Linked DNA regions of Homo sapiens: region 2 is linked to region 1. Evidence: promoter capture Hi-C in 16 types of primary human blood cells and fetal thymus (Javierre and others, 2016). All regions are on one chromosome and are shown on one strand. Each heading gives the region's core, a stretch centred on a gene start or on the middle of the fragment in contact. The rest is flanking DNA. Distances are from core to core; before and after follow the strand shown.

What was found. Contacts are between HindIII fragments. The CHiCAGO score rates a contact against its expected background, and 5 or more counts as called.
Region 2: the fragment with the promoter of QARS1 here is called in contact with the fragment with the promoter of TREX1 in region 1 in 1 of 17 cell types (non-activated CD4 T cells); the score reaches 5.2 in non-activated CD4 T cells.

The regions. Positions count from the first base shown.
Region 1 is chr3:48,464,343-48,467,479 of GRCh38, reverse strand. TREX1 (three prime repair exonuclease 1) reads right to left here and starts at 1,250. Exons shown (of 2, transcript NM_033629.6): 1 at 1,171-1,250; 2 at 1-850. The coding sequence starts at 824. It overlaps ATRIP (ATR interacting protein), which reads right to left. Exons shown (of 13, transcript NM_130384.3): 11 at 2,818-2,898; 12 at 2,397-2,649; 13 at 1-1,993. The coding sequence ends at 1,926. It overlaps ATRIP-TREX1 (ATRIP-TREX1 readthrough), which reads right to left. Exons shown (of 15, transcript NR_153405.1): 12 at 2,818-2,898; 13 at 2,397-2,649; 14 at 1,171-1,993; 15 at 1-850. RefSeq lists enhancers at 1-440, 655-854, 441-1,322, 1,935-2,024. The HindIII fragment of the contact is 3,980 bases long and covers 1-2,879 here.
Region 2 is chr3:49,103,507-49,107,803 of GRCh38, reverse strand. QARS1 (glutaminyl-tRNA synthetase 1) reads left to right here and starts at 3,047. Exons shown (of 24, transcript NM_005051.3): 1 at 3,047-3,187; 2 at 3,333-3,480; 3 at 3,832-3,941; 4 at 4,098-4,173. The coding sequence starts at 3,071. RefSeq lists enhancers at 1,873-2,522, 2,716-2,875, 3,086-3,275, 3,825-4,297. The HindIII fragment of the contact is 7,394 bases long and covers 1-4,297 here.

The sequences.
Region 1 (3,137 bases), core at 1-2,500:
GGAGGAAGATCCTTGGTACCCCTGCTCTCTCCAAGGCTGGGACTAGTGTTCCTGGTTGTGGCCAGGTGTGCAGTGGTTGTGACAGCAGATGGTCTTGGCTTGGTCCTAGCAGAGGCTGTGACCCCATACATGGGCCTGATGGTGCCGAAAGGCCTGGCGTGAGCATCCACCCACCGCAGCAGGGCCTGTGGTCTCCACTGACAGATGCTGAGCAGGGCCAGGACATCACCCTCAGCCGTGTGCGAGTCTGGAGGGGACTGCCCATACAGGCGAGTGTAGATGCTGCCTAGGCTATAGCTCTTCCTTGGGCCGTGTTCTGAGGGGCTGCTTGCTCGCTCCAGGGCCTTCAGCGCAGTGATGCTATCCACACAGAAGGCACCATCCAGAGCACTGGTGAGGCCCAGCATAGCCAGCTCTGCTTGGAGCAGGGGGAAGTCGTAGCGGTCACCATTGTGTGCCACCAGGCACCAGGGCTGTGGCTGGCGCCGCAGGAAGGCTAGGAGCAGGTTGGCCAGGTTGTCATCAAAACATTGACGCCCATGCGCTGCCAGCACAGCTGTGCTCAGACCTGTGATCTCGCTGGCTGCAGGGCTGCAGGCCTTCCCCGGAGCCACACACAGGGAGAGCTTGTCTACCACACGCGGTGGTGGAGGAACTGTGGGAGGTGGCCCCTGAGAGGTGGGGGGGCTCTCCAGGGCACATCTGTGGACAGCCAGCAGGCACAGCTCCGTGACCTTGGGCTGGGAGAAGGGCAAGCCAGTGGCCTCCATGTCGAAAAAGATGAGGGTCTGCATGGGCCCCGGGGGCAGGGCCTGCGAGCCCATGGTTGGGTACGTACCTGCTGCTGAGCCTGGAGAGGAGCATGGGGTGGGTGTGTGAGTGCCCAGTGTTAAGATCCGAAGGGGAGGGAGTGGGGTAGGGGGTGGGCAGAAGCACATCTCAGGCCTTCCCTGCACAATCCTGCCCTGTCTGCGAGCTCCAGGGCCCATTTTCAGGCAGGAAGTTGGAGAGGGTGAGGTGGTTTCCTTAGTGGGACCAGCACATTCGACTGTCTGAGAGGGTCTCCCTCTTCACATGACTCGGCCCCTCCCCTAGTGCCCCCTTAGTCTGGGGTGGGGGAACCCATGGCCCTCCTGCCCTGCGCCATCCCATTGTGGGGGCCACACTCACCGTAGCAGGCAGGCAGGCAGGCAGTAGTGACTCGGCTGCACACTCTCCCGCGGCTCTCGCTGGCAGCAGTGGCGGGAAGTGAAACTTGGCGTGGGCCCGCCTACAGGCCCACGTGAGCCAGGCCCGCCCTGCTCGTCAGCCTGCCTGGTCTGTCCCTCTCACCACCATCCGTTCCCCCCCACACCCACTCCCCTGCTCCCGGGGGACCCCAGAGGCCTTCCAAGATCCACAGCTGTGGCCTGCTGGTGGCACAATGCACCGGGGCCATCATACCAGTGACAGGCAGCTGGAAGGACCAGGGCAGTGGTGCCAGACCAGCTCCCGGTCTTACACACTGCTGGGAGCCCCTGCTGCGGCCCTTTCATGCCCACCTGTGGGTCCCAGTTTCCCAGGCTTTCCTGGTTTAGGCCTGGGCCAAGAGCCACCTCCTTCCCTGCCACACAATGGTTTCTTCCCATGGCCCCAGCCCAAAGCAATGACTCAGGACAATTCCACAGGCAGGGCAGGGCTCCTTCCTCAAGGCAGATCAGTTACCATGGGGACGGGCTCAGCAACAGCCAGGGACAGGAAGAAGGATCCCAGCCACTCAGGGTCCGGGTCCTGCTCCACCCCTCCCACTCCGCCAAACAGATCAGACTCAGGAAACAAGGCCAGCCAGTTCTCTGGGCAGTTCCTGCTGGTCACTGCTTTAATCAGTTGATGTGGTAAGGAAAGGAGTGGTGCTGGTGCCACCATGTGGCTGGACACTCAGGGCCTCAGCCACACTCCACCTCGGGGTCTTCCACATCGGTTTCCGCGGCACAGAGGTCATCCAGGGCTGCCTCTGAGACAAAAAGGAGAGGTTCCTGGTGAGGGCCCAAAGGTGCCAGGGCCTAGGGCAGGTCCCACCTCTCCTCCCCCAACGTCCGCAGGAACTAACCAGTCCCTTCCACACCCAGGCCCTGCTCCCTCAGCTACTGCAAACAAAGTGATACAAAGGCAATTCAGACACGGCTATTTCTGGAAAAACCGTGGCTCTGCCAGGCACACTCAACAGATAGATGCAAAAGGCATCCCAATATGCTTGGAGAAGAACTGAGGCAGGAAGATAAAAGAAAATGGCCCCAGTGCTGGAACAGGCTGCAGTGGGCGGGGGCCTGCTGAGGGGACACCCAGGAATCTGACTTGTTGGGGAACCTCTGGAAGAAGCCATGGGGGCTGGGCAGGATGGCCTCTGGCAGGCTTACCTTCACAGTCCGTCACATCAGGAAGCCCTCGGATGAGCATGCTGACCCCCGGCATCACCTGGTCAAACTGATGCAGGACCTCCACGCAGTGCATCATGAAGAGCTTGTCCTTCTGCGATAGGCCGTGCAGCAGCAGCACCGTGTCCCGCAGACAGCGCACTGTCCGCCTCTGCTGGTCGGTCCTTGGGGGTCCCCCTGCCCTCCGCACTGTCAGCCACTGTCTGTGCAACATCACCGTGAGCGCTCTGACCACCTGAGAGAGGGGGGGTGCAGACTGAGGCCTGGTGCCACCATGGCCTGCACCCTAACAATCCGCTCAGCCTAGCCACCTCACGTGAGGGGGTTTGCAGTGGGGCCTACAGTCCTTGCACGGGGCCCCCTTACCACCAGAGCTGCCAGCTGTTGGCCCCTACCCACTCACCTCCACATTACACTGGCAGTTGGAGCCAGTGACTGGGGGCAAGGGGCTCTGCACACCAAGCTTAGCCAGGAGCCACACCACCTAGAACAAGAACAGATTGGTTCCATCCTGGGCAGAAGGAGACCAGTCCCTGCGAGGGTTTTCTTAAGCTTCTATAAGAGTTCACTTGCTTCAGCAACTGTTTGTCTGCACAAATGGGGTCCAAGAAGTGGTGTGGGACCTTCCCAGGGAAGACCCAGGACAAGCACTCATGTGTCACCAGCAACCCACCTGCCTCCAGCCCCCTATTCTGCCCCCACGTCCCAAAGCCAAGACAGGAT
Region 2 (4,297 bases), core at 1,798-4,297, 640 kb before region 1:
GCATCGTCAGGATCTCAATATAGCCAAGGGACAGAGGAGTATATGAAGCACTGGAGCTGACAGCGTGGAGTAAAAGGTGCATTCACCAGAGCAGCCTGGGGCTGACAAGTCAGGGAGGACTTGGGGGACAGAAGTACTGGGAGATCTTCCTCCTCCTCTCCTGTCCTCAGCTTTTTCTTTGCTGTAACTTGAACACTAACTGCATCCCTGCAGGTAACAGAGCAGGAGGAAAACTGCTGTGGGGCAGATCTTGCTGCCCTGAAAAGAGGACAAGCAGAGAGGACCAGAGTGAATCTTGTCTGACTTCTATTGGAGGGAGGGTGCTGGGGCCTGCCAGCCTGAAGAGTCTTCCCTTAAGAGTTCCTGAAGCCTTCCTTCTTTGGCCAGGCATGGTGGCTCACACTTGTAATCCCCGCACTTTGAGAGGCCGAGGCGAGTGGGTCATGAGGTCAGGAGTTCGAGACCAGCCTGGCCAAGATGGTGAAACCCCGTCTCTACTAAAAATACAAAAATTAGGTGCAGTGGCGGGCACCTGTAATCCCAGCTACTTGGGAGGCTGAGGCAGGAGAATCGCTTGAACCTGGGAGGCGGAGGTTGCAGGGAGCCGAGATCGCGCCACTGCACTCTAGCCTGGGCGACAGAGCAAGACTCCGTCTCAAAAAAAAAAAAAAAAAAAAAAGTTGCTGAAACTGGCCAAGTGTGGTGGCTTATGCCTGTAATCCCAGCACTTTGGGGCGAGGTGGGAGGATAGCTTGAGCCTAGGAGTTCAGGACCAGCCTGGGCAACATAGTGAGACCCTGTCTTTACCAAAAATATAAAAATTAGCTGGCTCTTATGGTATGCACTTGTAGTCCCAAATATTTCAGAGGCTGAGATGGGAGGATCGTTTGAGCCCAGGAGGTTGCTGGACCCTACCTCTGTCCATTCCACGACTGGGCCTTGCTGGCTGCTGCCTGGTTTTTCCACTTGGTCATCTTTGTCTTGACTTTTCCTGGAAGCAGTGCCAGGGGCTTATGCAGGCAAGCTAACCTCCAGACTGGGCCCATACAATTTAACATTTCTGCTTTGTGCAAGTCGTAGACATCTAGGGCACTAGCTGGATATCGACTGGTATGCTACCACTTGTGGCATTCTTGGTGACACTGGTGGGGCTACTGCCTCATTCTATGACTTGTAGCCATGGCGTCCACAGTGTACCATGAAGTAACCAGGGAAGGGAGTGCAGATCTTGATCTCATTGAGGGAGCCATCACTAGACCTGTAGGACTTGGTGATGGTGCTACAGTGAATCTATTGGCAGCATCAGGTACTGAGGAAATAGTGGCAGTGGCAGGCACTCTGCATGGCTTTGCTCACCATGGGCACCTTTATGGTGGGCTGGGTACTTGCAGCTTCAAATTTGGTGCACGGCTGGTGTGGCTATGGCTCTGCTTCTTGGTACCTGTCCTTAGCACCACTGGTCTGCATCCCCTGCTTAATTCCTGCACCTGGCCTTTCTCATGCAGTACACTGCAGGGCTAGGCATCTGGCTGGGGCCACGGGGCCATGGAGATGTGGGAAGCCCCAGGACAGCATTGGACCTGGATAGCGATACAGCATGTGGCCCTGGTCTGCACCTGGCATGTGATCATTAGGTGGTATCCAGATGTAGGCCCAGACTTGGAGGTTGGTCATTAATAATGGGATGTGGGCACAAAAGACACAGAATATAGATAAAGACTAGTCAGGATCCTGCCTATTCCTTGAAGGTCCAGAAGTATGAGCATCACCAATTCCTGCAAGAGCTCCAATCTCAAATGTGGGGATTTCCACCATCCCACCACCAGCTGCTCATTCTCTGCAACCCCCTACCTCAGTCCCTTACTACCTTAGTCCCTTTTCTCACACACACACAAAGTCTCTGTTCTGTTTCAGCCAGCAGGTCCTGGAAGTCCAGTGAGACTGTGGAAAGATCCCCAAGCACAACAGCTATAATCATGAAGCTATAACCATCTCATTTGTCCCACCCTCTCACAAGCTCAATAAAATATCCTCTCAAAGGCCTGCAGAGGGATTTCAAGGTCTAATTTGCTTGTGGTTTTCCTGATAATGCTTTGGCAAGAGGGTAAGTGTGGGATGAGATTTTTTTTTCTTTTCTTTTTTTTTTTTTGAGACAGTCTTACTCTGTTGACCAGGCTGGAGTGCAGTGGCACAATCTCGGCTCACTGCAACTTCCGCCTCCCAGGTTCAAGCGATTCTCCAGCCTCAGCCTCCTGAGTAGCTGGGATTACAGGCGTGCGCCATCACGCCCGGCTAATTTTTGTATTTTTAGTAGAGACAGGGTTTCACCATGTTGGCGAGGCTGATCTCGAACTCCTGGCCTCAAGTGATCCGCCCGCCTCGGCCTCCCAAAGTGCTGGGATTAAAGGCCTGAGCCACTGCGCCCGGCCAAGATTTTAAACCAAATCATCATAGAACTTATGTGAGGTCCCTCCTGGCCCAGACCCGTCCCTTCCCTTTCCTGGCCAGCTGTGTCCAAGTGGGCACCTGAAAACCGGCGGACTTATGGGGCCCCTGGATCGGTCATTCCACACATTCTCTACGATGGAGTCTGGATGAGGGATTTCCTGGGCTTCATTTGTTCAACTGTTTCCATGACAACTCCAAAGCTGTGGCGTCAAAAGCGTGACAGGGACTCGCATTTGCCCCCGAGGACAATTACTATATTGAGATGGAGTTACCAGGGCTGAAGTAGAAAAGTCAGAGCAAAACCACGCCTGTGTCTTCCTCCTGCCTCAGGGACGAACACCTTCCTTCCAGGTCCGTGGCAAATATCTCCAAAAGCCCTGCCGCCTGCCAACACCCCTTCAAGTTCCCAGTTCCACGGAGGCGGAAGCAAAGCCCCCGGAAAGGCCGGTTTGTCCGCCCTGTGTTGTTTAAAGGGGATAGACGACCTTGGAGCGCCCCGCCCCCTCCCGCCAAGGAAGGACCCCATTGGCTCTCCCCGGAGGCTTCACTCTCATTGGTCAGCGAGTGAATGCCGACCTGCAGACTGGGGCCTAAGTTTCTTTTAGTTTCCGGTGTCTCTGCAATGGCGGCTCTAGACTCCCTGTCGCTCTTCACTAGCCTCGGCCTGAGCGAGCAGAAGGCCCGCGAGACGCTCAAGAACTCGGCTCTGAGCGCGCAGCTGCGCGAGGCCGCTACTCAGGTGCGAGCCCCTCTGCCCCCGGCCTGGTTTGCAGACCATGCTGCAACGCAGCGCGGGGCGGGGTCCAGATCCCGACCTGCCCCGTTTGTCCCGCCCTTTCCTCTCACTGAGCGCGGGGCTTCTCTCTTGACCCCTCTGACCTCAGGCTCAGCAGACCCTGGGTTCCACCATTGACAAAGCTACCGGGATCCTGTTATATGGCTTGGCCTCCCGACTCAGGGATACCCGGCGTCTCTCCTTCCTTGTAAGCTACATAGCCAGTAAGAAGATCCACACTGAGCCCCAGCTAAGCGGTGAGACCCCTACCTGTCCTGCCAGTTCGCACCAATGCCTCCCTTCAGCCAAGACCCCTGTCTTCCCTTTTTGCCAAGTCCTCCAGTTTCTTTCTAGACACCTAGTTCTGCACAGGCACTGAGGCATGGAAGGGGTGGCCTATGGTGAGACTGACACGGGAACTGTCAGGGTCTGAGGGGGGATCCACTCTCGACACGTGCTTCTTTCTTCCCTGTGTTCTCTAGGGTGGTGGTGCCAGGGCTTAACTTTTCAGGAGGCCAGACTATCCTTGGAGTTTCATGAGATTAGGACCCTGTCTGTCCACTTCTTGGAGCAGAGATGCCACAAACTCACGGGCTCTTTCTTCTCAGCTGCCCTTGAGTATGTGCGGAGTCACCCCTTGGACCCCATCGACACTGTGGACTTCGAGCGGGAATGTGGCGTGGGTGTCATTGTGACCCCAGAGCAGATTGAGGAGGCTGTGAGTCTTTCCCCAGGCATCGTCTGCCTCCCCAGTCCTGGCCATGGAAAGGAGTGGCTCAGTTTCCCTCCTCAGGAAGACCCAGAGTGAGGGTGTGGGTTCCCAGAATATCTCTAAAGGTGGCTTTCCTGAACCACATGGTTTGGCTTTCTGCAGGTGGAGGCTGCTATTAACAGGCACCGGCCCCAGCTCCTGGTGGAACGTTACCATTTCAACATGGGGCTGCTGATGGGTGAGCAGGGCCTGGAACGGGGCTATATTGTTCTCTCTGGTCATGCCTTTTCTTCTGGGCACGAGTGAGAAGGAGGTGGGGGAAGGAACAGGAGTGACTTAAAGTGGTCTGGCTGGGCTCAGGC